Linked DNA regions of Homo sapiens: all the other regions are linked to region 1. The links are contacts of gene promoters, found by promoter capture Hi-C in blood cells and fetal thymus (Javierre and others, 2016). All regions are on one chromosome and are shown on one strand. The core of a region is centred on a gene start or on the middle of the fragment in contact, and the rest is flanking DNA. Distances in the headings are between cores, read along the strand shown. Region 1 holds the start of EIF4G2 (eukaryotic translation initiation factor 4 gamma 2). Region 2 overlaps MICAL2 (microtubule associated monooxygenase, calponin and LIM domain containing 2). Region 3 overlaps DKK3 (dickkopf Wnt signaling pathway inhibitor 3). Region 4 overlaps USP47 (ubiquitin specific peptidase 47). Region 5 overlaps USP47 (ubiquitin specific peptidase 47). Region 6 overlaps USP47 (ubiquitin specific peptidase 47). Region 7 overlaps LOC107984311 (a long non-coding RNA gene).

Evidence for each region. Contacts are between HindIII fragments. The CHiCAGO score rates a contact against its expected background, and 5 or more counts as called.
Region 2: a fragment that was not itself captured here is called in contact with the fragment with the promoter of EIF4G2 in region 1 in 1 of 17 cell types (M0 macrophages); the score reaches 5.1 in M0 macrophages.
Region 3: a fragment that was not itself captured here is called in contact with the fragment with the promoter of EIF4G2 in region 1 in 1 of 17 cell types (non-activated CD4 T cells); the score reaches 5.3 in non-activated CD4 T cells.
Region 4: a contact is called between a fragment that was not itself captured here and the fragment with the promoter of EIF4G2 in region 1, in 1 of 17 cell types (naive CD8 T cells). The highest score is 5.5, in naive CD8 T cells.
Region 5: a contact is called between a fragment that was not itself captured here and the fragment with the promoter of EIF4G2 in region 1, in 1 of 17 cell types (total CD4 T cells). The highest score is 5.3, in total CD4 T cells.
Region 6: a fragment that was not itself captured here is called in contact with the fragment with the promoter of EIF4G2 in region 1 in 2 of 17 cell types (naive CD8 T cells and naive CD4 T cells); the score reaches 6.9 in naive CD8 T cells.
Region 7: a fragment that was not itself captured here is called in contact with the fragment with the promoter of EIF4G2 in region 1 in 2 of 17 cell types (total CD4 T cells and non-activated CD4 T cells); the score reaches 5.8 in total CD4 T cells.

What each region holds. Positions count from the first base shown.
Region 1 is chr11:10,807,280-10,811,255 of GRCh38, reverse strand. It overlaps EIF4G2 (eukaryotic translation initiation factor 4 gamma 2), which reads left to right and starts at 2,330. Exons shown (of 22, transcript NM_001418.4): 1 at 2,330-2,551; 2 at 3,875-3,976. The coding sequence starts at 3,961. It overlaps LOC101928053 (a long non-coding RNA gene), which reads right to left and starts at 1,959. Exons shown (of 3, transcript NR_120540.1): 1 at 1,890-1,959; 2 at 1,335-1,399. RefSeq lists enhancers at 1,246-1,852, 1,928-1,977, 2,488-2,747, 3,478-3,557 and a silencer at 2,158-2,207. The HindIII fragment of the contact is 4,879 bases long and covers 1,377-3,976 here.
Region 2 is chr11:12,125,944-12,129,919 of GRCh38, reverse strand. All of the region lies in intron 1 of MICAL2 (microtubule associated monooxygenase, calponin and LIM domain containing 2), which reads right to left. Among named protein-coding and RNA genes, the nearest start is that of MICAL2, 17 kb to the right of the region's middle. The HindIII fragment of the contact is 2,625 bases long and covers 431-3,055 here.
Region 3 is chr11:11,961,499-11,965,474 of GRCh38, reverse strand. DKK3 (dickkopf Wnt signaling pathway inhibitor 3) reads left to right here. Exons shown (of 7, transcript NM_001018057.2): 7 at 789-2,439. The coding sequence ends at 1,011. USP47 (ubiquitin specific peptidase 47) reads right to left here. Exons shown (of 28, transcript NM_001282659.2): 28 at 3,588-3,976. Among named protein-coding and RNA genes, the nearest start is that of DKK3, 45 kb to the left of the region's middle. The HindIII fragment of the contact is 3,439 bases long and covers 1-3,345 here.
Region 4 is chr11:11,928,767-11,932,742 of GRCh38, reverse strand. USP47 (ubiquitin specific peptidase 47) reads right to left here. Exons shown (of 28, transcript NM_001282659.2): 12 at 3,178-3,309; 13 at 2,623-2,699; 14 at 1,992-2,047. Among named protein-coding and RNA genes, the nearest start is that of DKK3, 78 kb to the left of the region's middle. The HindIII fragment of the contact is 4,291 bases long and covers 1-3,976 here.
Region 5 is chr11:11,910,794-11,914,769 of GRCh38, reverse strand. The region is part of intron 8 of USP47 (ubiquitin specific peptidase 47); the gene reads right to left. Among named protein-coding and RNA genes, the nearest start is that of USP47, 71 kb to the right of the region's middle. The HindIII fragment of the contact is 1,884 bases long and covers 741-2,624 here.
Region 6 is chr11:11,878,844-11,882,819 of GRCh38, reverse strand. USP47 (ubiquitin specific peptidase 47) reads right to left here. Exons shown (of 28, transcript NM_001282659.2): 2 at 2,440-2,643. Among named protein-coding and RNA genes, the nearest start is that of USP47, 39 kb to the right of the region's middle. The HindIII fragment of the contact is 539 bases long and covers 1,884-2,422 here.
Region 7 is chr11:11,827,999-11,831,974 of GRCh38, reverse strand. All of the region lies in intron 2 of LOC107984311 (a long non-coding RNA gene), which reads left to right. Among named protein-coding and RNA genes, the nearest start is that of USP47, 12 kb to the left of the region's middle. The HindIII fragment of the contact is 3,456 bases long and covers 498-3,953 here.

The sequences.
Region 1 (3,976 bases), core at 1,081-3,580:
TTGAGGTCAGGAGTTTGAGACCAGTCTGGGCAACATGGTGAAACCCCATCTCAAGTAGAAATACAAAAATTAGCTGGGCGTGGTGGCACATGCTTGTAATCCCAGCTACTCAGGAGGCTGAGGCACGAGAACTGCTTGAACCCAGGAGGTGGAGGCTGCAGTGTGCAGAGATCACACCACTACACTCCAGCCTGAGTGACAAAGTGAGACTCTGTCTCAAAAAAAAATTTTTTTTTCTAAAGGTTTTACTTAATGTTTTTATTTAATCTTTGCTAATTGTGAACCCTTCTGCAATGGGCTTTGCAGGTACGATTTCAACTTCAAATCTTTCTATTTAAGTGAGAGAAAGGTAATTGAAAGATTGTTTTATCAATATTTTTACTTTTTCTACCTTAGGTTATTCCCTTCCAGGTCAATTTCTCACATAAACTCATATCTGCAAAGCCCATACCAAAAGGGTTCCCAATTAGCAAAGATTAAATAAAATATTAAGTAAAACCTTTTTTAAATTTTTAATTACTGAATTTTAAGTGTCTTAATTATAAGAACATCCGACTTTTACGGCTAGGTGAATATTCTCTTTGAAGTCTAGACAATAGTTTTTGAATACTACTCTTCTTAGTAAACTAATGTATTCGTTCATTATCAGATAAATGGAATGTAAACCAGTTATGTAAAAATATCACATATACTAATGCATTTTTCCAAACCTTAAAGCCCTACAGAAATTATAAAGAAACATTATTCTCGTGTTATCATGAAGCTAGAAGGGTCCAAAGAAATACAAAGTGAAACCTCTTGTATTTAAAACAAAACTTGCACCACCACCACCACCCCAAAATAGTTTTTTTTTTTTTTTAGAATATCTCTTCCAAGTTTTAAAGTTCAAGTAAAATTGATGTAATAGCAATAAGTGTAGTAACAGTAAAGTAGGGAATGGTGACTATTCTATAGCAAAGATCTACAGATGTTGGAATTGTGTTAAAAACCTTCAGAGCCACACCACAGCCTTCTATTACATTTAAATGTCGTAGGAAAAACTGCAATTTTCCGGAAAATTGTATTAAGGACCAGGTGCTCTAATACCAAGAGCTGTTTTGACACATCAAAGGTTAAGTTTGGGTCTTTGAAAATCCTGCCTCTTACTGAACACTTTAAAAGTCATTCATGTTAAAACACACACATTCTTGCCTTTGACTATACACTGTAAAAGTACTACATGTTAAAATGGAGATGGGGACATTTTTGTTGTTTAAGTTTATGGAAGTATGACTCCATTTTAGTATAGCTACAATGTCGCAAACGATGGAATAAGGTACTCATCAATACATTACCTGGTAAGTATAAATAGTTCAACTTGCCGGCTTTGAAAAGCTTAATCCTATTTCTTATGGTGAACCTTAAATAAAATGAAAATACACAACTGACAATGTTTAACGTGCACTTAAACAAACAAAAAACAAAAAAAAACAGGAGCTAGCAATTCGAAATCCTCCAAACACCCGCGGAAGTCTGACACACAGGGTGTTTTCCTCGGTGACCGCCAGCCGGACATTCCTATGGGAAAAGCAGCTTCTTCTGTGCGGTTCGAAGAAAATCAACCCCTTCCTTTCATCACTTTCTCATTCACTCTGCAGGGGGTGGGCCAATAAGGAGCTGAATGAAGCTCCCCTTTGGCATCCGGGCGCACGTCTCGCCTCCTCCCCACTACTTTCTGGGTTCCCTAAGGCTGCCGAAGCCGAGGACCTGGAGCCGGGTAGTGTCCCGGCGCTGCGCCCGGGGGCTCCAGGCCTCAACCCGAAGGGCTCAGCCCCGGGAGAGGCCAGGCACGCGAGGGCAGCCACAGCTCCAAGGGGCGCCAAGAAAAGCAATGCTCACTCGCCACGCACAGGGTTCGGGGGAGGTAAGGGTGCGTTTTCTTCCCATATTCCCGGTGAGAAAACGAGGTCGAGGGAAAAGGGGATGATACAACTGGAGCATGGCATATGGACTCAGTGAACAAAGGGACTGGAGCAAGAAGCAGCAGCCACGCCAACGCAGACTCAAAAGGGCTCTCCGGCTTTACGCACGCAACCCTCATCTCGACAGCGCTCGGCGCCCCTTACGCCACTGGCTCAGCCTCAGAGACTTCGCGAATATGGCTTTGCGCACTGCGGCGGGGCTGCGCCGCAACCGAGCTCAGCCCTGTGGCTCCTCCTCGCTGCCCTGCGCGGATTGGTGGCAGACGGCAACCGGGCCGCTGATTGGGCGGCGAAGGAGCCATTCGGGGAGACTCTGGTGGGTTCGGCTGCCCCAAGAGTGATAAGTTCGGCTTCAGACACGCCTTAGCGCCAGCAGTGAGTCGGAGCTCTATGGAGGTGGCAGCGGGTACCGAGTGGCGGCTGCAGCAGCGACTCCTCTGAGCTGAGTTTGAGGCCGTCCCCGACTCCTTCCTCCCCCTTCCCTCCCCCTTTTTTTTGTTTTCCGTTCCCCTTTCCCCTCCCTTCCCTATCCCCGACGACCGGATCCTGAGGAGGCAGCTGCGGTGGCAGCTGCTGAGTTCTCGGTGAAGGTGAGTTGAGCCGCTGCCGCCGCCGAGTGGAGCGCTCTAAAATGGCCGCCGTCCCTGGTCGCTTCTTCTCGAGTGGTACAAAATGGCGGCCGCAGGCGGAGCCGGGTGGGGCGACCCTTTTTTAGCATTTCCTCTGCGCTTCAGATACCTGGAAAGTCTTGGCTTTTGTTCTCTCTTCCTGTTGCTGACGGAGTAGAAGGAAAACGTCAGTGTTGGCCAGGCCGCCGTGCGGTCATGGCCGGATGGCCGACGCCTGCAGGGACGAGGCCGTGGCGGACCGAGGCACGGCTGTGCTCGGACGGCGAGGGAGCGTGGCTCGGACCGCTAGCGCCGTGGCGGGAGGCACGCGGGCCGGCAGGGAAGGCCAGGCCGTTGGCGCGGGACCAGGGAACCGCAGGCGTCCCGGAGCCTGGCCTCCCGGCGGGGAGGTGTGTAGGACCTGGAGTCGGCAGGGGCTGCCCTTCGTCGGGGAGGAAAGAGAGAGTGATGATTTCTGCCCCTTTTGTCAGCAGAGGAGGCCGTGGCGAGGCGGTTGTCAGTCCCGGGGGGATTTATGGTGCAGGAGGGGGCCCGCTTGGAGGCGGCGGGTGGGCAGGAGGCCGCCTTCCTGCTTGGAGAACAAAGAGCTGGGCGCCGGGCTGGCGGGGGTGGCCTCAGCTGCTCCTCCCCGTCGAGCGACCCGGGCCTCGCGGGGAGGTTGTCGGAAGCACTTCCCTAACTTGCGCCTGGGTGGGAGGAATGCTCCGCTCTTTTGTTCCCAGGAAGGGAAAAACGGGGCGGAGGTTCCTGCTGCCATGTTGTGGCCCTGGTCTTCCGCCTGCAAGTGCTAGTCCTGTACACCCGGCCCCCTCTCGCGCGTCTTTCCACGAGCTCTCCACGGGGAGGAGGCGAAAGGGTGGACAGGGGAAAACTGCTGAAGAGCTTTCGGAGAGACCTCATCTAGTCGCTGGCCTCGTCAAGGCAGTAAAAATTCCTAGGGCAGACATTTTCCACGTGATGTTGCTCGTGTCTGTAGTTAGACTTTTCTATTGATCTCAGTGCTCAGTTTTAAAGATAGTAGAATGTGGCTTTTTCAAAAGATTCGTTCTGAGCCGTTTAAAATGCTCTTGTGTTCTACGAAGTCTCTTTGCATCCTTGAACACCGGGGAATTTCCAGGTGGCTAAACAAAATGTAATTGTCAGTGTTTTGAGTACATTTTAGGTTAGTCTTACAGATCTGCAATGCAGTGACAGTGCCAGGATCTGAAATACGTTGTAATTGAATGAAGGCTTATAGATCTGTATGTTAGCAGTGTCTAATTTTGGTGCTCTTTCTCGTTCCAGGTATTTCATTTCTCCTGTCCCCTCCCCTCCCCACCCCATCTATTAATATTATTCTTTTGAAGATTCTTCGTTGTCAAGCCGCCAAAGTGGAGAGTGCGATTG
Region 2 (3,976 bases), core at 494-2,993, 1.3 Mb before region 1:
GGCAACACAGGGAGACCCTGTCTCAACTAAAAACAAAAGAAAAAATTAGCCAGGCATGGTGGCGTGCACCTGAAGTCCCAGCTACTCCAGAGGCAGAACTGGGAGGATCATCTGGGCCCAGGAGGTTGAGGCTGCAGTGAGCTATGATCCCACCACTGCTCTCCAGCCTGGGTGACAGAGTGAGACCCTGTCTCATATAAATAAATGAATCATAAAATTAAGAGAAAAACAAATGAAAAACTGTCCACGTAATTGAGGACCACCAAAAAAAAAAAAAAAAAAAGAAGAAGAAGAAGAAACAGAGTAGAATTGTATAAAGGTCGGCTGGTCACCACATGACCTCCTCCCAGTCCTCTTTAGGAAAAGGGCTAAGGGGGAAATGATGAATGGCTTTAGGGGAAGAGTCAATCTGAAACTCCAGAACAAAGCTTTCTGGGATAGGAAGGGGGGTGCGTGTTTCATTACCTTCCACTTGCACGTTTTGGAGCAAGTTATTCAACCCTGCAGAGCCTCAGTCTCCTGACCTGTTCAATGGGGACAGTACCCAGTAACCGCACAGGGTAACTGTGAAGACCAAATGAAATATGAATGGGAATGTGTTTGGCAAACTGTAAAGCACCTTTGGAAATATCAGACATTTTCCAAATCCTGAGAGGTGGGGTCTTCAGGTCAGAATATGTGGCTTGAAGGGTAAAAGAAAACCAAGAATCACTTCTTTTGGCCCAAGTCTCTATTGACAGCTTCTAGGACAAGGCACAAGTCTTCAGGGATTTTAGAAAGATGCTGATTGAATTCTATTCATGGTCTTGTAAAGGGGAGACCTACACCCACATCTATATAATAAGGCAAAACAGAATGTGTTACAGAATGATCCTGCAGAGAGGATGGACATTCTACCCTGACCTCAGAGATTAAGAAGGCACTTACAATAATACTATAATATAAAAATAATATAAGAATTGTTAACATAATAATAACTCTTTCAGAGTGCTTGCTATGGGCCAGGCACTGTTCTAAGTGTTGACATAGCTTCTCTGATATTCTCATAACAACCCTATGAAGCAAGTTTGCAGATGACAAAACTGAGGCACAAAGAAATTGACTTCTATCTTGGACTTACATGGCTGGTAAGTGCTGGAGCCAGGATTTGAACTTGTCAGGCTCTGCTCCTTTTGGGAAACCAAAATGGGTTTCAGATAGACTCTGAGAGGGTGGCTGAAAGGCTCTGATAAAGCCTGCAGGGCTGAGTCATTGAAGAAAGGTACTGTTTCACCCACAGTGTCTCCCACCCATGCTTTCCCCACTACATTCACACTGCCCCGATCTGTCCTGGAAATTGGCCATGCCTCTGCTCTCCCTGCACCTCTTTGTGGGTACCTAATACCAAGGGAGACTGATATGAGAACCTATATGTCAATGTTTACATTTACACAATGGAACACTCATGGATTAATCCCAGCTCTGCCATTTACCAGCTATGTGACCTTGTCAAGTCTTAGTCCAGGGCTTCTGCTTCCTCATCTGTAAGATGTGGTTAACACTTATTATCTTGGGCAGTTATTGCAAAGATGAAATGGGATGTGTCTAGTGCAGCACCTGGCATGTTGCAGTCTTGATAAACAACTGTTAAATAGGAAGACTTTACAAAGGATTTCCATTGCAAAATCATTTTCTTCAAGGTAAGATCTGGTGGTAACAGTAGTACTTTTAACTAGTATTCACCTGGTTTTCATCTGCCACTAACCTACACCCACAACATGGATGATCTCATTTAATCCTGAAAAGCGCCATTATTTTCTTCATTTGACTTGGCTTCAGGACAAGAAAGGATGTCCCTAACACATTAATTTTACACACACATACGTATATGCAGACAGAGGGACAGATAGTAGAGCAAGACAATATTTTTAGGCACTTATTATATGTCAGGTGCTAGTCTAAGTATTCTACATTCAGTAACCCACTTCATCCTCTTGAAAACGTGCCTGAAATGGTAAGTACCATTTTATCTCCATTTACAGATGTGGAGCTTGCAGCACAGTGAGGAAAGTGTCAAATGAGTAGACTTTTTTAGTCTACAGTGGTCATCTCCTCCTGAATCTCTGCTCCCCTGTCTCAGCCGCCAATATCCTATCCCCTACAAAGCCACTAGGGAGATCTCCCCACACATGTCACTCCTCTGCTCAAGAGCACTCAAAGACTCCCTACTGCCTAGTCAAAGACCCCCAACAGGTCGAAGAGGATCAACTGTGGGCTCAAGATCCCAGTAGGATCTGGCCTTGCCTCCTTCCCTGTGCTCCCAAAGTCCCAGTGACAGGGTGAGTCAGTGAAACCTTCTCTAACCACTCTGTTTAAAATTACAGCCCTCCCCGAGCTGCTCCCCTCTCCATGCAGCACACACCATCTCCTTCCCTGCTTTGATTTTCTCCACCATACCTCTCATCACCTGGCCTCCCACGCATTTAGCTCACTTGTTTATTGTCCCTCTCCCCTTCTGGGAATGTGGCAAGGGATGTTATCTTGTTTTGTTTTTTTCCCTGCTGCAACCCAGCACTGAGAGCAGTGCCTGCCACAGAGTAAGAGCTCATAAATACCTGCTGAATGAATGAATGAGCAGACATGTAAAATGCCTAAGAAGAAAATGTCCCCATAGAGCAATGGTGAAAGAATGGCTCCAGGAGGCTGGAGGCTAGAGATGCCTAGACTGAAATGTCCTGGAGCTAGACCCTTTCTTGCCTATCTTCCTGAGATTTACAAGAGTTCCCTGTGAGACCCTGGGCCTTCATCCTCCCATCCCTGTTCTGAAGTTAAACACACTCCAACTCAATCTCTCTCTCATTAAAGCCTCTTTGCATCTGTCCTAAACTCACCTGCCTAGCCTCATTTCCCGCTGCCCACCTTCAAAGCAGGCAATTCCCCATTTCTCTTGGCCTCAACACCCACTAGAGATGCTCTCTTCTTACTCCCAACTTATCCATCTGCACTGCAACTACCCATCAGGATCCAGATCAAATGCTGCTGCTGCCGCCACCTCTGCTCCCTCCTCCAGGAAGCTTTCCAGGCCCTCCCTAGCCCACAGAAAACACTCCCCACACCCACCGCTGCCTCCTTCAGGCAGATGGACATTAGTCATGAACTACCTTGTGGTTTTTCTTCTATGATTGAGCTGAACTGTTGCGAAAATCTCCTGTTACTTAATTTTTTTTTTTTTTTTACACACATAAGCCTTGCTTTCCCAAGCCCACTGTAAATACTTTAGGAGGAGAAGTTGAGCCTTATGCATCTTGTCATCCCCACAGCACAGAGCCTAGGGCACATAGTAGGTGTTCAATAAATGCTTCTTAATTGCCCAGGGTAAATAAGTCACCTCCCCAATCAGGTCACTTCCTCAATTATAGGTACCTGGACTGGCCACTCCCAAGAGGCTGCATTTTTTCTTCAGAGCCAGCTGTGATCTCAGTTACCTGCAAACCTCACCATGGGCCTATGTTTTCAAAGGATGTTAGACCTATTCTAATCTCACTCCACTGAACTGGGCAGACGAGATGATTTGTAAAGCATCTCAGGTCTGGCAAAGCAAAGTACATACTTCTTCCAGGCAAACCCAGAGATTCAGAGCTTCCAATCTCCTTAAATACTGGAGTTCACAAGAGGAAAAAACCATGGTGTAAGTTTTAAGTGACTGACAGCAGAAAACCAACATGAGGCTCAGGTGCACGCTTTGAGCACCAGCTATCACTAAACCGAGATTACAGTTTACTGTAATGGTCCTAAAATCCCACATGACTTCTGAGGGAGAGGCCCTGTTTACTACAGACCCTCCATGTGCTGGCCTATGCCAGGCTCTGCAGGAGGGCCTCCCTGAGTCCCCTCTGCAAGGTAAGTGGGCTGGGACCAGCCAGCTTTACACCTGAGGAGCTGAGGCCCAGGTGGGTAGGAGGCTGCAGAGCCCTGACTCAAGCAGGTGAGTCACTCA
Region 3 (3,976 bases), core at 377-2,876, 1.2 Mb before region 1:
GAGCTGGCAGAGAGGCCACGGGGAGGCCAGGAGTGGCCACCAAGGTGGAGGGTGCAGCCCACACTGTCTGAGGCTGCTGAGACTCCATGAGGCATGAGGCTCAAGCCTGGCCAGCTTCTCAGGGCACATCTCCCTGTCCTCCCCGCAGCCTCTACTCAGTCTTCTCTCCCAACAGAATCCAGGGCTGCTGGGCAGACAGGCAGAACTCCCATTCCCCACGGCTCTGTGCAGTGGCTCACACCTGTAATCCCAGAGCTTTGGGAGGCCAATGCAGGAGGATTGCTTGAGGCCAAGAGTTCAAGACCAGCCTGGGCAACATAGGGAGATCCCGTCTCTACCAAACACATTAATTTTTTTTAAAAAAAGGAATTCTTCCTCCCTATTCCCACAGAGGTCCATGGCTCCCTGCATGTGGCTAGACTACACCCCAGAGTCAGGCTGACTCCTGCCTGGAGGCCCGAATGGGCCACAGTCTTTGAGGGGCTGTGGTGCTGCTACATAGCACTCAGGTCCTGCCCCTGGGCTGCGGGGCCTGAGAGTCACAGGAGGTCAGGCCTGCGCTGGAGGAGGGGAAGCTGCCCCCCACCAGCACATTCTCCCAAAGTGAGCCTCCCTCAGCCATCATTTTAAGATAGATGTTGACGGGAAGTGAAGTGTCTCTGTTGAAGAGACAGGAGAGGAGGGGGCATGAAGGTGAGGCTGGGAGCCCCACAGAGTCAGGGCGCCTTAGCTTTCGGCCTGGGCAGGCTCCCACGTTTAGAGCCTGGCTTTGTCCCATCTCTCCCCAGCCACAGCCTGGTGTATGTGTGCAAGCCGACCTTCGTGGGGAGCCGTGACCAAGATGGGGAGATCCTGCTGCCCAGAGAGGTCCCCGATGAGTATGAAGTTGGCAGCTTCATGGAGGAGGTGCGCCAGGAGCTGGAGGACCTGGAGAGGAGCCTGACTGAAGAGATGGCGCTGAGGGAGCCTGCGGCTGCCGCCGCTGCACTGCTGGGAGGGGAAGAGATTTAGATCTGGACCAGGCTGTGGGTAGATGTGCAATAGAAATAGCTAATTTATTTCCCCAGGTGTGTGCTTTAGGCGTGGGCTGACCAGGCTTCTTCCTACATCTTCTTCCCAGTAAGTTTCCCCTCTGGCTTGACAGCATGAGGTGTTGTGCATTTGTTCAGCTCCCCCAGGCTGTTCTCCAGGCTTCACAGTCTGGTGCTTGGGAGAGTCAGGCAGGGTTAAACTGCAGGAGCAGTTTGCCACCCCTGTCCAGATTATTGGCTGCTTTGCCTCTACCAGTTGGCAGACAGCCGTTTGTTCTACATGGCTTTGATAATTGTTTGAGGGGAGGAGATGGAAACAATGTGGAGTCTCCCTCTGATTGGTTTTGGGGAAATGTGGAGAAGAGTGCCCTGCTTTGCAAACATCAACCTGGCAAAAATGCAACAAATGAATTTTCCACGCAGTTCTTTCCATGGGCATAGGTAAGCTGTGCCTTCAGCTGTTGCAGATGAAATGTTCTGTTCACCCTGCATTACATGTGTTTATTCATCCAGCAGTGTTGCTCAGCTCCTACCTCTGTGCCAGGGCAGCATTTTCATATCCAAGATCAATTCCCTCTCTCAGCACAGCCTGGGGAGGGGGTCATTGTTCTCCTCGTCCATCAGGGATCTCAGAGGCTCAGAGACTGCAAGCTGCTTGCCCAAGTCACACAGCTAGTGAAGACCAGAGCAGTTTCATCTGGTTGTGACTCTAAGCTCAGTGCTCTCTCCACTACCCCACACCAGCCTTGGTGCCACCAAAAGTGCTCCCCAAAAGGAAGGAGAATGGGATTTTTCTTTTGAGGCATGCACATCTGGAATTAAGGTCAAACTAATTCTCACATCCCTCTAAAAGTAAACTACTGTTAGGAACAGCAGTGTTCTCACAGTGTGGGGCAGCCGTCCTTCTAATGAAGACAATGATATTGACACTGTCCCTCTTTGGCAGTTGCATTAGTAACTTTGAAAGGTATATGACTGAGCGTAGCATACAGGTTAACCTGCAGAAACAGTACTTAGGTAATTGTAGGGCGAGGATTATAAATGAAATTTGCAAAATCACTTAGCAGCAACTGAAGACAATTATCAACCACGTGGAGAAAATCAAACCGAGCAGGGCTGTGTGAAACATGGTTGTAATATGCGACTGCGAACACTGAACTCTACGCCACTCCACAAATGATGTTTTCAGGTGTCATGGACTGTTGCCACCATGTATTCATCCAGAGTTCTTAAAGTTTAAAGTTGCACATGATTGTATAAGCATGCTTTCTTTGAGTTTTAAATTATGTATAAACATAAGTTGCATTTAGAAATCAAGCATAAATCACTTCAACTGCTCTTCTGTAGTTCTTGGATTTCTTTTCCCTTTTGACTTTGAATAAATGTAAAATCCTTTCAGCCAGAAAAAGTAAAATAGAAACAACCTGTATTAAAAATCTTCCATAGAAGCAAATTTGCCACCCAACTGAAGCACACCTCTTTCAGCATCAAAATATTTTAGAAATCTTAACTATTTTTGGATGGGAATTTGTCTTAAAGAGTGTAAATGCTTCACGGCCTTCTGAAAGGACAAATGGAATATGTATGACTCTTTTTTTAGGGGAGCCTTCTTTAATCAAATGCAGTTCTGGGCCATAAGACAGTAAGATCCTCAAGGACCATAATATTAGAGCTACTATATTGAAGTCAGCTGCGTGGCAAGTGCCAGATTAGGCAGTCTACCTATATTCATTCATTTAATCTTCACTGAACTCCATGAGCATTTTCTTCATTTCACAGATGAACAAATGGAGGTGCAAAGAGATTGACAGAGTAGAAGTCAGACAAAAACAGCATCTAGTACAGTATGTCCAGGTTATAGTGATTATTTTAAGATCAAATAGGGAGCTGTTTTCTATTCAATGTCAGAAACCATCAGGACCACCCTACATTCTGGTTACTCAACAGATATCTACTGAGAGCCTCCTCAGAATCAGGTGCTGTGGTACGCTTTGGGGTGCCAAGCTGACCCAGATAGGGTCCCTACCTTGAAGGCATCCCAGTCTAATGAGGGAGACACAGCCAGAGCAAGCAATGACAAAACAAAGACAGTCAACCCGATGTGGGAACAGAGGTGTTACGGAAGCCTCAGTGGAGCACTTGGGGAGAGCTGGCATGGGAACTGGCTCTTGAAGATGATAGGAGTTTATCAGGAAGCCAGAGGGCACAGGAAAGGGCTTTCTGGGCCATGGGCAGAGGGAGGGAGGCACAAGGGTCAGGTGCCATGTAGGGGAAACTGCAAGTCATTTGCAGTGGCTGGAAGGCAAGGAAAGCTTGAGGAAGCATTTAGAGAAGAGGCTAAAAATTATGTCATCCAAAAAATGATTGAAAACATTGTGGTAAATGAGATAAAACTAGGTCCCCCATAGTTGTATATGTAGATATAGTAGGCTGCTCCATTTTGTCATGATAGCCACAAACTTGTAAGAACACGAGAGGCTTTGCAAAATACTTAGCTGAAGCCAGCATCTGAGTAGCATCTGAGTGTCTCCTTTACTCAGTCCTGAGTGAAATGTGGGAGGGGCTGGGTGGAGGTGGTGCTTGAATACCTTGCTGCTGCTCTCTCCCAAAGCCAGAGTTCCTGCCAAGCCATGGCAGATGCCGTCAGGTAAACTGCTCAACAGCTGTTCTCAGTCCCTCCAGCAGCTAGGGCTGGCCCCATGACCCAGGAAATGTAAGGGGAGGGCTCCCAGAGTTTCTGGAATTTTTTCCCAATTGACAAAAGGAGAGTGGCAAACAAGAATGGAGCTCCTGCCCTCCATCCACTTCCCCTGCCTTTGAGTATGGTGCTCAGGAAGCGACATTTGGCTCTGGGGCAGCCATCTGGTGATCATGTGATCAACAGGGCTGCATTCCTCTGGAGGCTCTGGGGAGAGTCCATTTCCTTGCTGTTTTTTAGCCTCTAT
Region 4 (3,976 bases), core at 790-3,289, 1.1 Mb before region 1:
AGTATGTGGATTAATATTTTAGAATGAAAAAGCTCTCTGCAACTTGAAAATAATTTCTGACTTCAAATCATGCCATCCCCATCAAACTGTGTGACCTTGGGCAAGTTTACTTCTCCAAATGTAGGTCTCTTCAGCTTATTAATATCATCTACCCCATAAAGTTACTACCTGAGATACAATAAAACTTAATAAATACTGCTGCTGTTGCTGCTACTGAGTACTACCCATTTGTTTACTATTATCTTTCCTGTGTTCTCAAAGCAGTCTTTAGCTGCTTCCTAACCAAAGAATGCAGAGTCATAAAACTGACACCTTCATCTATTGGATTTCTCCCTCTCTATATGGTCAAGATTCATTTGAATACAAAAAGTGATGATTATGTGATATAGTTTGGACATCTGTCCTCGCCCAAATCTCATGTTGAATTGGAATCCCCAATACTGGAGGTGGGGCCTGGTGGGAGATGTCTGGGTCAAGCCTCATGGCTTGGTGCTTTCTTTGCCATACTGAGTTCTCATGAGTTCTGGTCATTTAAAAGTGTGTGGCACCCCTCCCCCAACCCCGGAACTTGCTTGCTCCTGCTTTTGCCATGTGAAATGCCTGCTCCCATATTGCCTTCTGACATGACTGAAAGCTCCCTGAGGCTTCATCAGAAGCTGGGCAGATGCTAGCATCATGCTTCCTGCAAAGCCTGCAGAACTGTGAGACAATTAAATCTTTCTTTATAAATTACTCAGTTTTGGGTATTTCTTTATAGCAATGCGAGGACAGCCTGATATAATTTGTGAGGCTACTTTTAAACAATTAGTTAAAAGAATAAAGTATATGCAAAAAATCATTACTATAGACTCACATATAATCATTTTTACGAAAGTTTTTCTTAATAATTACAACTTCATATGTAACTCAAAGCATTCAAAGGGACAATATGAAATTATGACACCATTTAATAAAGCCAATGATTATTTGGCATTAAAAAGGGGAAAAAAATTTTATCAAAAACAGCATGTGTCCGTAAAAGGTAAAAGCTGTTGTTTCTAGGAAAGAACTCTAATTTAAAAAATATTCCATGTCATGTCATACAGCGCCCTCTGGTGCTTTATAACAAAACTAGAGTTGGGGGAGTAAAAGAAGGCTGAGTTATTGCACTATTGGAAGGTTGGGTCCACGTGAGGGACATGAATTACAATACTGGCTCTGCTTCCAGATAGCTATGACCTGGGTCAGCTTACTCTTTGGGGTAGTTTCTTTATAATACAGTACAAATGATTACTTCTGCTCTTAAATCTCTGTTCTGAAATGACTTACTATAATTTCCATTTATTTTTTCAATAATTCCATAGTAAATTATTGAACATTACTATATGACAGATCCTAGAATATACTTTATGTGAAAAGATGAGTAAGTCCTAAGCCTTGTACCAATTGAATTCACCATCTAATGAGGGTTTACAAAAATGTGAATAAAAACATAATGCTTGAAACAGATTTACTAATAGCAACGGTAGTGTCTAAACAAAGGAAATATACTGAAATCAAAGATTGTGATTATATTTTTTTTAATTATGAAAAGACTATGAGCAAACACATCACCTGTATATGTATCTGTACACACCCCCCTAGATATTTGTAATACAGCCTGAGTCAGAATTAGCAAGAAAAAACAAACACTGCAATATTTTAAAAGCAATAATTCCAAAAATGTTATCGTCCCTACATCAGACTGCACATAATATAATCTTACTACTAATAAACATTCAATTTATTTAATGTAGTTTTGTCTCTTCATATATTAAAAAATAATTCAACAACATTTTTTCAAGGTCCTTAACATTTGGTATTATTTTGTAACAGTCTTTGTAAATAATTCTTCCAGGCATAAAACAACTTAATTATCCTATCATTTAAAAGTAGTTATCTGGGTTTGCAAACTTACAAAAGAAATTAGTTTATAACACAAATTAAAATCAAATAACTGTAGGTAAACATACTTGCATTTCTGGCTGGATCCTTCAGTCTATAGATCAGCATATATGCATTTGTGGAACTAGTAGAAACATAAAAAAGATTAATAAGGACAAAAAGTAGATTAAAAAGATTCCACTTCTAAGCATGAAATATTTAAATTGTGATTTTTTAAAAAACAATTAGAAAATCATGTCACTGTTCACAGACACACTGAGATTTAAAACATTCCAGATAAGAGGAAAATCTGTTTCCTCTTATCACATTTAGAGAAGATTCCGTATCTCCTCTTGGTAATACAGTAAAGTCTTTAACAAAACTGTGTATTGGAATGTCTACATACAACAGTTAAGTCAGGGGCCAGCAAGTTGTTTCCAGCAAGGACCAAATAGTAAAAATCACAGGCTTTGCAGGCCATATGGTCTGTGCTGCAACTACTCAACTATGTTATTATAGTGTAAAAGCATTAACACATAATATAGAAACAAATGGCTATGTCAGTGTTCAAACTTTATTTCCAAAATATGGAGGCAGGTTGGATTTGGCTCATGGGTTGTAGTTCCTCAATCCCTTGGTTAAATCTTTGATGATAAAAAAACACTGAGAAGCTATAATTAATTCTAACTTTTAAACACTGAAAATTAGGAAATTGCTTACCTTGCGAAAGCACTAGAATAATATCCTCTGCTTCCTGAAGATCCACCATGTGTTTTCTTAATGTCCTCTTGTGTTATCTGAAAATGTGTTACATGATTTTTTTTGCAAATTCTATAACACTATCACATTAACGTCAATATGTAACTCAATCTTTAGCCTCAGAGTTAAATGCTATCAAAGACCTTCATGATTGCTCACACAGCTACCAATTCACAAAATTTAATCATAATCAGTGGCTGCTTACCAGCCAGCCAGTTCTAGTATTCCTAATCACACGTGAAGCACAAGTAGCACCTATGAAGGTTCAGGCCCAGAGGAAAATTGGTAGTCTATCTCTGGAGATATTCAGCAAGCCCCAAACAAAACAAAGCAAAACAAAGAAATAATAAACAAAGGCAAGAACTTTACTAAAAGCAAAAATTAAAGACAGATTTGATATGGGTCTTAAGATGTATCACTAGACAGATTCACTCATTCTTAATAAACTTTACTGTTGTTTAGAAACATCCTTACTCCCACCTTTCAGAGTAATAATCTTAAAGGACACCTCCTTACCCTGCTGACATGTTGATCATTGAAGCTGTACCACTGCTCATCACTGAATGACTTTATACATGCATAATAATGACCACCAGCAGCGCTCCCAGAATGAACCATAACAGAGAAAAGTTCATAGATCAAGGAATTCTAAGGGGAAAAAATAAAAGTAACTCAGAGGAGAAGGAAAACACAACCCTTATTTGTGTATTTCCTATTCTCTGTTAACACACAGAGAAGTAACATGGTAAGTTGTCCTATATATTACAGGTCAACTTTCCCCTAAGGTAAAACAAAAATGGCAAGTTATCAAACAACTGTATATACCAGAAGTTACACAAGTTTCATCAGTGCACTCTTCCACATTTTAATTATGCTATAACCTTTGAAACCATATATATCTGTAAATATAAACTTACATATGTAAAAATTAAATAATAGTCTAAAATTTCAGAAGCAGATGCTAATTACAGTGCTGTTCTAAAATACACAGTCGATAAAAAAAATCCGAAGTAACATACTGTTTCTTATTCAAATTCTATTTCCTTTACAAAAGAGCTGAGGAATATAATTATTTGGAACATCTTCTAATGTATTTATGCATTATCTGTGATATCATGATCTACTGATTTGTTCTCTCATATTAAGAATGAATCCTGAATTATACTATATCTACAATAAATTAATATTATTTCTTTAGCTTCCTGTTCTGCAAACAATTCTTTAAAGTTTGGAACTAAAGATTATTTTAGGCAAACTTAAGTATTTGTGGAAGAAAATCAAGAAAAGAGGCAACTTGTTTAAAAAAAAGAGGTCA
Region 5 (3,976 bases), core at 433-2,932, 1.1 Mb before region 1:
CAGCAATGTTGAGTATCTTTTCTGTATTTGACATTTGTATATCCTCTTTAATGAAATGTTATGTCTTTTGCCAATTGTCTAGATGAATTTTTCTAAACTGATGTCTTGAGAGTACTTTATATATTCTAGATATGAGTCCTTTGTCAGATAGACAGCTTGCAAATATGTCTGGAGATTCTCTTTATCATATGGGCTTTCAGAGAGTAAATATTTTTAATTTTAATGTTTGCTAATTGTCCCTTTTGTAGACTGTACTTTTGGTAGCAAATCTAAAAACTCTTTGCTTAGCCCAGATCTGGAAGACTTTCTCCTATGTTTTTTCTAAAAGTTACATAGTCTTACATTTTACATTTAAGTTTATGACCCATTTTGAGTTAATTTTTGTATAAAGTCATTTAAGTCAAGGTTCATTTTTGTGATATGGATGTCCAGTTGTTCCATCACCATTTGTTGGAAACACCATTTTTCCTCCATTGACTTGCTTTTGTGTCTCAGTCAATAATTAGGCATATTTGTGTGGATCTATTTCTGGGTTTTCTATTCTACTCCACGGATCTATTTGCCTACCCCTCTACCAATATCACATAGTCTTGATTACTATAGCCATATAATAAGTCTTTTTGGCTAAGTAGTATTCCATTCCAAATCATGTAGACTGGTAACTTCCACTTTATTTTTATTTTTGAAAACTCTTAGCTATTCTAGTTTCTTAGGCTTCCATATACATTTTGGAATAAGCTTGTATATGTCCTCAAAAAATCTTGCTGGACTTTGACAGGAACTGCATTAAGACTATGTAATTATCTTTACTATATTGAATCTTCCAATTAATAAGTACAGTATGTTTCTCCATTTATTCTTTTCAAAGTTTTTTTGACACATAATACTGTAAATATTTATGAAGTACATGTGATACTTGATACATGCATAGAATCAAGTCAAGCTATTTAGGATATCCATCACCTTGAACATTTACCATTTCTTTGTATTGGGAACATTTAAAATCTTCTATTCTAGCTATTTTGAAATACACAATATATTGTTAACTATAGTCACTCTAATCTGCTCTCAAACACTAGAACTTACTGATTCTATCTAACTGTATGTTTGTACCTATTAACCAACCTGTCTTTATCCCCGCCTCTCTCAAACACACTGTTCCCAGCCTCTGGTAACTACCATTCTACTCTCTACCTTCATGAGATCAGCTTTATTTTTAGTTCCCACATGTAAATGAGAACATGTAATATCTGTCTTTCTGGTCCTAGCTTATTTAACATAATCTTTTCAAAGTTTTGTAGTTTTGAACACATAGGTCCAGTACATTTTTTGTTGGATTTCCATCTTTTTTCTTTTTGCAAAATTATAAATGGTATTGTATTTTAAACTTCACTTTCTACATGTTCATTGTTAGTATCTTGAAATACAATTTATTTTTTATGTTATTTTTATCCTGCTACCTTGCTAAACTCACGTATTAGTTCAGGTGTTGTTTTTTTTTTTTTTTTTTTGTACAAGGGATTTTCTACATAGATAATCATATCACCTAAAAATACAGACAATTTTATTTCTTCCTTTAGTAGTGCTTTTCATTTCCTCTTCTTACCTTACTGTGTTGGCTAGGACTTCTAGGACTATGCTGAAAAGGAGTGGTAGGAGCAGACATCCTTGCCTAGACAAGCGTGCCATTCCCTAGGAAGAAAGCAGTCTCTCACAATGAAGTATGATGTTAGCTATAGATATTTTAGATACGTTTTTTAATCAAGTTGAGGAAATTTCCCTCTATTCCTAGTAATCTGAGTTATTATAAGTGAATTTTGAATTTTATTAAGCACCTTTTCTAAATCGATATGATCATATGAATTTTCTTTTTTGGCTCGTTAATATGGAAGATTATACTCATTGATTTTTAAAATACTGACCAGTCTTGAATCCCGGAAATCAATCCTAGTCACAATATATAATTCTTTTTATAAATTGCTTAATTCCATTTGCTAATATTTTGGAAAGAATTTTACCAACTACACATATAAGGGATACTGTTTTTTTTAAGAACTGTCTTGGTTTAATATCAGGTAAGAATAGTGTCACAGGACTATGGGTTTCCTCCTCTTCCTTTCTTTTTTTTTGAAAAGAAATTGTACAGACCTGGTGTTCACTGTTCTTCGAATGTTTGATACAAGTATCCAGTGAAACAATCAAGATTTGGAGATTTCCTTTCAAGAGGTTTTAAATTATAAATGTAATTACCTTAACAGTTACAGGACTATTCAAATTATCTAATTCCTATTGAGTTCTTTTCAAAGAATTGGTTCGTTTTATCTAAGTTGTCAAATTTATATGTGCAGAGTTGTTTGTTGTGATCCCTTTGATATCTGCAAGATCTATAGTTATATCCTTTTCATTCCTGATACTGGAAATTTTTGCCTTCCCTTTTTCTCTGTCAGTCTTGCTATTTGTCAATTTTATTGTCTTTTCAAAGAGCCAGCCCTTTGTTTTGTTGACTTCCTCTACTGTTTTCTCATGTTCAATGTTACTGATTTCTCGGCTTTTCTTTATTATGTCCTTCCTTCCGCTTGCTTTGGGTTTCTTTTGCTCTTCTTTTTTCAGGTTAGGTGGAAGCTTAGATTTCTGATTTGGCCCTTTTCCTGTCTTTTAGTATAAGCATTTAATACTGTGAGTTTCCCTCTCGGTATTGCTTTAGTTGTGCCTCAAAAAAATTCGTTATGTTTTACTTTTCATTAAGTTCAAAATATTTTTAAAATTTCCCTTGAGACTTCCTCTTTGACCCATGGATCATTTAGAAGTGTTATTTCCCAAGTGTTTTGTGATATTCCTGTCTGCTAATCTGATTCCACTGTTGTTGAAAAAAATCACACATTCCATGATTTTAAATTTTTTGAGGTCTTATGGTCCAGAGCATATGGTCTATCCTCGTATATATTTAATGGATACTTGAAAAGGATGTGTATTCTGCTGCTGTTGGGTGAAGCACTTTAGCAATGTTCATTAGATCTGTTGGTTGATGGTGTTGCTGAGTTCTACCTCTTTGCTATTTCTGTCTAGTTGTTCTACCTATCAGTAAGAGAGGGAGGCGTGCTGAAGTCTGCAACTGTAATTGTAGATTTGTCTTTTTCCTTTTAGTTATGACAGTTTTTCCTTCATGTATTTTGGCAGCTGTGTTATTTTCTGCATACACATTTAGGATTGTTGTCTTCTCGGTTGTTTGACACTTTTATTACAATGTAACAGCCCTCTCTGTCTGTGGTAATTTTCTTTGCTCTAAAGTCTTCTTTATCTGACACTAATATGGCCATTCCTGATTTATTTTGGCTTATTGTGTTTGGGGTTTGCTCAGCTACTCAGATCTGTAGGTTTATGCCTTTTGCTAAATTTGGAACATTTTCATCCATTATTTCTTTGTGCCTGCCTTCTTTTTCCTTATTAATCTCCTTTCAGGACTTTAATGACACAAGTGTTACACCTTTGCTCTCCTTCCAGTATTCCAATGACACAGTGCTAAACCTTTTGTTATAGTCCCATAAGTCCTTGAGGATATATATTTTTTTCAGTCTATCTTCTCTCTGCTGTTTAGACTGGGTAATATCTATCATTCTATCTTCAAGTTCACAGATTCGACCTACTGTCTCTTTCATTCAGCTGTTCAGCCTATCCACTGGGTTTTTAATTTTGCTTATTGCAGTTTTCAGTTCCAAATTTTCATTTCTTTGTATCTCTAACTGATTCCCTAAAATTTTCATTGTTTTCAGTGTGCTTAGGACTGCTCACTGAAGTGTTTCTATGATGGCTGCTTTAAAATATTTATCAAATAATTCTAACATCTTTGTCATTTCAGTGTTTATGTCTACTGGTTTTCTTTTTTAACTCAAACTGAGATTTGTGATTTTTTAATTGAAACCTGGACATTTGGGGTGTTATGAGATTCTGGACCATATTTAAACCTTCTAGTTTAAAT
Region 6 (3,976 bases), core at 904-3,403, 1.1 Mb before region 1:
ATTTATACGAGGTTCCTGTAATGAAAATGCTGACATTGGAAATGGAAAGACACAGATGAGTAACACCTATAACAAAAAGGAACTATAAGTGGTGCAGCCAAAGGGCATAGGAGGTCAAAGAGAAAAAAATTACTTTTAAAGCGGCATGAGGAAACACTGAGTAAGGCTTTTTAAGGGTAAAAGATGATATTATATATCATCTAGGACAGTACACAACTATCCTTTAAACTGAAAAAGGACAACACTGGAAATTATGTGGTGATGTACCAGAAAGTGTTCAAAGTCTCAGATTAAATATTGTTTATCTTTCTATGTCTTGTCCGACTACCAATTTTACTGGTTAATTTCAGTTTAAAACATTAGTTCTATATTTTTAAAAAAACAAATATATTATGGAATAAAAAGCATAATATGATTTTAAGGGCAAATCAGGCAACATCAAACATCTTTGATTCTCCTGTGGGACCAACTTAAAATATGTACTCCAAATACCATAGGGATACACATTCAACTTCACTGACTGTTAGAGGTATTTTTCTGGAAAACTTAAGACAGAAAAATATGGAAATCTATGTTAAGAAAATAAACCAATCCAGTATCTGGGATTTAAGAGTATAAAGCCTTAAAGAACCAATAATAGCTTGTCTTAGATTTTTAATCAGTGGGCAATGAGCAGTGATTGATGGTTACTGAACTAGAAGGTGACATAAGTGCTACAACTTTAGATGACTGAAAATAATTCTAACTATTATGTAGGGTGAATTTGGACAGAGAGAAAGGAAACAAAAAAGGCTATCTAGAATACTGTTCTAATAACGCAGATGAGATCCAACTCAATGGTCTTCTTCCTTAACCACACTCCCATGCAAAAGTGATCAGTACCTCTGCTATGTTCTGAGTGTTTATGTCTCCCCAAAATTCACATGCTGAAACCTAATCCCCAATGCAATGATATTAAGCGTTGGGGCCTTAGGAGCTGATTAGGTCTCAAGGATGGAGCCCTCATGAATGGAATCAGTGTCCTTATAAAAATGGTCCAAGGACAGATGTCTATCAAGGATTCCTAGAAATTTTTTTAATAATTGCAATTGTTTATTTTGGTAGTAAACATTAATACAAGATTAGGTCAAATGATGACCTAAGAAGATGTCTACCAATAATCCTCCCCTAAAGTCCATAAAATGTCAAAAAAGAGCATGCTTAGCAAACCAAAAATTTTGAGAAATTAAAAAATAGAAAACAGACAGGATCAGATCTATGGAAAAATAAAACTAAGGGGAACCACAGCCCAAAGATCCTATAAGAGAAGACTACTGTGGAGATAAAGGTAGTAAGGAACTTCAGACTAAGGTCAAGACATAGAGGCCAGGAAACAGCTAAAAGTGAGGAAGTAGGAAAAGGCATTCTGATCAGTTTGGTATCTCCTCTCTTTTTCTCCTTGGACTACGTAGCAGACAGCAGTGCTTATTTCCTGTCAGGGTAAAGAGTGGGCACTGTGACCGGAGAGGTAGCACAGTGCTGTCTAACAAGGTACTGATCAGCTCCTAACCCTAAAGAGTCAGAAGCCAGCCAATCCCAGAACAAGTATAAACACATCACACCTAGCAGCACGTCTCACCCTTTTTCCACAACAAGCAAGAACTGAATATGGTAAGTTTAATCAGCATTCACAGAGAAGTGAACAGAGATTCTCAAATATAAAGATGAGCAGAAAATAAAAATCACTAAATATTTAAAGAAATGCTACACCATGAAAGAGAGAAACTAAATATAATGGATAAGGGATAAATAATTAAGGAAACAGTTAACAGACGACTAAAATTAGAAAGTATACCCTCAAAGAGATCTGACAAGACTGCAGTCGTTAAAAATGTTTTTAAGCTTAAGAGTTAAAAGTCAAAAGCTACACATGTTCATACAAAGAAAAATAAACATACAAAAAAGTTGCCCAGAAATGCACATAGACACACAAATAAAAAGAAATAGTCAGCTAGAGATAATCTTGGTTAACACTGTAATGTATGAGGCATATATGCTTCCATTTTTCTTACTATGAATATTTTTCTTCTTTTCCAAAAATCAGATCATAAAATATGATTTTACAATCTTTTTTCACGGAATAATATAAGATGATCATCATTCTGTTCAGTAAATATAGAAATTTTTCTTTAGTTGAGACAATATTATGAGAGTCACCTTTCATGAATGAAAAAACTGATGAAATGACATTATGTAAACTTTAGGACGAGCAAATGTTAAATCCAGAATGGAGGCAAAGGAAGAAGAAGGATCCAATTACTGAGCTGCACATAGGCTCTTACTGTAGTTGTTATACTTTTGTTTATGATTTTAAGAGTTCCAGGATTTAACATTATCATCAGTAACAACAACAACAATGGCTATAATAACATTTTTAGAAGCTTAAGTCTAGGATTTTACCATATCAGCAGTATTGATTCCATTTCCCCACACCAAGTCAAAGGTTCCATTTATGTAGCCTACTTTGTTGGCCACATCTTCAAAGAGCTTTCTGACTGGAGTAGATGCTGGTAAATTTAAAGTGATCCGTTCATTCACTGTCTTTGAATTAGTAGTATCTTGTATAATACATAAGACTCTAGGTTCTTCAGCAGCATTTTCTATCTGAAATTTTAAGAAAAATATGACTTTATATATTATCTTTAAAGCAAAACAAAAGTATAATTAGCTATAAAATTTTATGATTAAATGTAAAAGACCTCAGGAAATACTAAGTATTTTCTCTGTGCTATTTTCTCTGTTTTATCGTAGTCTGAAACGCATTCTAATGGATATGTCAAACATATAAGCACCGTATATGTTTGTTTTGGAAGAATCAAGGCACATTTCAGAATCAACAATCATTTTTGGAGATATTTGCTTTCACCTTTAAGACTGTAAATCCATGGTCAATAAGCCATGAAGATAGTAATATTTAAGCAATTTTAAGTTAAAAATTATAAAATCTGATCCTTAAAAAATGTGTCATTACCATGCTAGCCACAGTCAAATCAAATATTTCTGGGTCTCCTAAAAAAAAATGGGAATTGTGCAAAAATGCAGTAAGGATTGTCTAAAGATTAAAAAATCTATAACTAAGGGATACAGGCTACCACATCTCCTGATCTTTATGCTGCTGTACTCATAAGTCCAGATGTCCAAAAAGCTCCATTTATTAACGTGTCAGGGGCTGACAAGCTTATCCAAACAGATGAGCCAGGAGGAGGGGGAAGGAAAAACAAGGAAACAGTTTCAATTACCAATACAGAAAGGAATTAGGGTCACAAATTATCCTTCCTGCTTAAACTTTCTCAAATAAGCTATGCCCTCCCTCAAGCTGTTAAAGGACACCACTTTTCCACTTTCCACAGGGGTAAAAGACTACATCAAAGATACTTTATTGGAAGAAATTCCTTTCCCTCCTTCTATAATGGCCATCTCAATGAATGGCACCATCATCTGCCTGGCTGCTGAAACCAAACAGCTGAAATGAGCATCTTCCTTGTCCTTCCCTCTTTACCTCACATAGTCTCCAAAACCTATCAATTCTACCTTTTGAATATCTCTTGAACTACCTCCTTCACTTTATTCTTGCCTGCAGCAATAAGAATATCCTACAACAAAATTATGGAACAGCTTCCTAAGAAGTTTAACTTCTTCCAATCTTATATTCCTTCAACCCCGAATAGTATTTCTGATATACAAATCTGATGATGTAAATCTCTTGCTTTCCCTGACAGTCAGGTGTGGCATTAAACTGAGAGATGTCTCACCATCTCCATAATGGGCTATTCAGAAATATGATCTCTACAAACTGGTGGTGTACACAAAAATTTATTTCTTCCTTAGTTTTTATAACACTATCAGCTTCAACCTTTTGTTGCTTCTATATTATCCATTTTTAAATAAGAATAATTATAATTGGCTAGTACTGAAGATGGGATAGCCACAAAGTTTT
Region 7 (3,976 bases), core at 976-3,475, 1.0 Mb before region 1:
AGGATCATGTAAATTGTGGTACACTCATACTATATAATACTATGCAGTTATTCAAATAGAATGAGGTAGAAAAATAAAAACTGTTATGGACTAAATGCAACATGATGTCTTAGACTGGATCCTGGAACAAAAAGAACATTAGTGAAACACTAGTGAAATTCAAAGTCAGACTTTAGTTAATATTAATGTACCAATGTTAATTTCTTATTTTTGACAAAAGTACCTTTGAGAGGTGAAGCCAGCTGGACTTCCTGGGTCGAGTGAGGACTTGGAGAACTTTTCTGTCTAGCTAGAGGATTGTAAATGCACCAATCAGTGCTCTGTGTCTAGCTAAAGGATTGTAAATGCACCAATCAGCACTCTGTAAAATGGACCAATCAGCACTCTGTAAAATGAACCAATCAGCAGGACGTGGGCGAGGACAAATAAGGGAATAAAAGCTGGCCACCCCAGCCAGAAGCGGCAAGCCGCGAGTCACCTTCCATACTGTGGAAGCTTTGTTCTTTCGTTCTTCACAATAAATCTGGCTGCTGCTCACTCTTTGGGACTGTGCCACCTTTAAAAGCTGTAACAGTCACCGTGAAGGTCCATGGCTTCATTTGTGAAGTCAGCGAGACCAAGAATTCACCAGAAGGAACCAACTCCGGACACACCTTGATTATGTAAAATGTTAATATGCAACTCTACTGTAAATCCAAAATTATGCAAAAATGAAAAGTTTATTTAAAAAAGGTGAGATAGAAGATCAAGATATAACAAATAAGAAAAAGAAACTTGCAGGATTGTATGTATGGCATTTGTGTACTGAAAGATGGTGTTATAAATATGTACACCAGTATAAGCATAGAAATCTCTAGAAGAATATGCTCCTCCCCCTTCCTCCTCTCCTCAGAAAAGTTTGTAGTAATTATCTCTAAGTCACTGGAATGGAAGTTCTCAATGTCGGTGGAAGTAAAGAGTTAGTTAGAATCTTCTCTTTTTCTTTCTTTTTTTTTTTTCTTTTTTTTGTTTTTTTTTTTTCAGCCAGAGTCTCACTCTGTCACCCAGGCCAGAGTGCAGTGGTGTGATCTCGGCTAACTGCAACCTCCACCTCCCAGGTTTAAGTGATTCTCCTGCCGCAGCCTCCTGAGTAACTGGGATTACAGGCACATGCCACCACGCCTGGCTAAGTTTTGTATTTTTAGTAGAGACGGGGTTTCACCATGTTGGCCAGGCTGGTCTCGAACTCCTGACCTCACGTGATTCAACTGCCTAGGCCTCCCAAAGTGCTGGGATTACAGGCGTGAGTCACCGTGCCCAGCTGGAATCTTCTCTTTTTCGTTTTCACATTAAATCATACTGTGTTCTTTTAATTCTTTTAAAATAATTCGAAGACAACAAATTAAAAGAAATAATGTATGAAAACTGGTTAACATAATGACTGACACATTATAGATGCTCAGTATATAAAAACTTTCATTTTTTTTACTGGCCACTTTGGTTCATAACTTTTTATTGTATCTCTAATGACAAACACAAGTTTTTGTAGAGTACTTACTCTTAACTATGGTCCAGGCTCTGTATGGAGTATTTTACACACTCTATCTTATTACTCCCCATAACAACTTTATGATTTGGGAACAATTATTATCCTAATTTTACAGACAAGGAAACAGGAATAGAGAAGTTAAGTAACTTCCAAAGTCATAAGGCAAATAGATAAATAATGGAACTGGGATTTAAACCTAAGCAGTCTGACTCCAAAGTCTTTCATCATAGGTGAAGCCTCAGTTGCTTCTACAGATACAATCTTTAAACCTTCTGGTTCGTTATGTGGTAACTGCAATCTACCTACAGTGGAAGAAAGTAATGGCTAATCATTTTCACTCTTTAGCAGAGTTGGACGATCTGAAATCTCTAGATCTTTCTTTAAAAATTTTAGCCAATGGGCTCTGTAGCTTGATTCTTTAAATTTTAAATGTTTCTACTCATCTAATTGTTTGGTGATTTTCACTAGACTAAATGATCCCACTTCCTCATCATTTTTTAAGAGATCTAATTGTTTAATTCTTGTAGTTTCTTTTCTGGAAGACTAACAATCTCCTTCCCTAAAAGTGAACATTTTCTTTCTTTCTTTTTTTTTTTGAGACAGAGTTTTGCTCTTGTTGTCCAGGCTGGAGGGCAATGGCGTGATCTCAGCTCACTGCAACCTCCGCCTCCCGGGTTCAGGCGATTCTCCTGCCTCAGCCTCCCTAGTAGCTGGGATTACAGGCATGCGCCACCACACCCAGCTAATTTTGTATTTTTGGTAGAGACGGGGTTTCTCCATGTTGGTCAGACTAGTCTTGAACTCCCAACCTCAGGTGATCCACCCGCCTTGGCCTCCCAAAGTGCTGGGATTACAGGCATGAGCCACTGCGCCCGGCTGAACATTTTCTTTAAGAAGGTAATTAGCAGTTGCTATCCCTTTCTTCTTCCTCTGTCTTCATCTGATAGAGCAGGTAGTGTTTTTGCATAATGCCACCTAAACTTGTCAAAGTCTTTCATGGACCAAAACATGCAAGTAAAGGAGTATCATCTTATCTTTTTACATGAGTCCTCTGGTAGAAAAAATTGAAAATGATACTTAGATGCTAACTGTTGATAAAATTTTCTACAGGTACAGATAATTAGGTCATCTTTTGTTTAAAAATATTTCAGAAATGTTATCTAATTTTCTAATGTGTTGGCAGAGCATAGGCTTTTAAACCTAATTATCATCACCATTGTTGCCCATAATCAACACTTAGATTGGATTCTTGTCGTATACATGGCCCTGTTGCTTATGAGGAATCATAAATTCCTAGCCAGACTCAAAGTCTCAGTTGATTTAACCACAAAAACTTCAAAATTTATTATGTGTGTGAGCACTACAATCATACAAGATTCTTTGGAAGATAAAATATAATAAATAAAATTTAGAAGGTAGACCATAAAAATAGATCAGAAAATGTGATGGAAAGAACAGAAAATGAGCAATAGTCATTTATCATAATACATTAATCTCCATTAAATATCTCTAAGGTGTTTGACATTGTGATAGATGCTTAAGAGAGCATAAAGTCAGTTTGGTGACTTATTGCCTGCATAATTGAATAAAGGAGATTAAAAATGATGGAGCATGTCAGAATTTATGTCGGAAAATGTACTCTGAAATTCAATTCAACAGATATTTATTAAGAGTCTTCTGACAAGGCGTGTTGCCAGGAACTATGTCAAACAGACGACTAAGAATGTTCTCTACTCTCAGGAAGCTCACAATTTAGTTAGAACAGCGCTAGCCAACATGAAAATTGGGGAAGGCACTCCAGAACTCACAGCTGTTTGAGCACAGCTTGGGCTAGACTTGAACCTTCACTCACCCTTAGCCAGGCATCTGCGTGCATTGCACAGCTTGAACAATCACACACAGAAGCCCTAGCTATGACTAAAACAAACAAGCATGATGGAAAGATAGAATAATAGATGTGCACATATAAACCTGAGTGTAGAGAAATGGATTATATGTGAACATGACAATTGAACCTCAAGATGATTGGTCAAATGTTTGAGAGAGAGAAAAAAAGGTCCCCTTTACCTATGATTGGCCCAGTATGGGTCGTATGCTTCATGTAATGGCCAAGACTAAACTGAGTGCTGATCGTCCCAATAGACACACAAGTGTGAAGACATTCCTGGCAGGCAAAAGCAACGCGGGAATCCTGGAGAAGAGAATTACAAATGTCATGCTGAGAACTTACACATTTTTTGGTTATTAGTAGAGAAATCTATTAGAAATAAATTTTGTCTTTATAAAATGTTTTATAGTAGTTTGGGAAAATTCAGTATTATTTAAGTCTACATGTAATAAGTGGAATTTGAATCTTAAAACTGTTTTCAACACACAAACTCATTTTCCAGAAAGTAACTACAATAAGCATTTTGAAGTGTAAGCTTCTGGACTACCACAGAAAGTTGT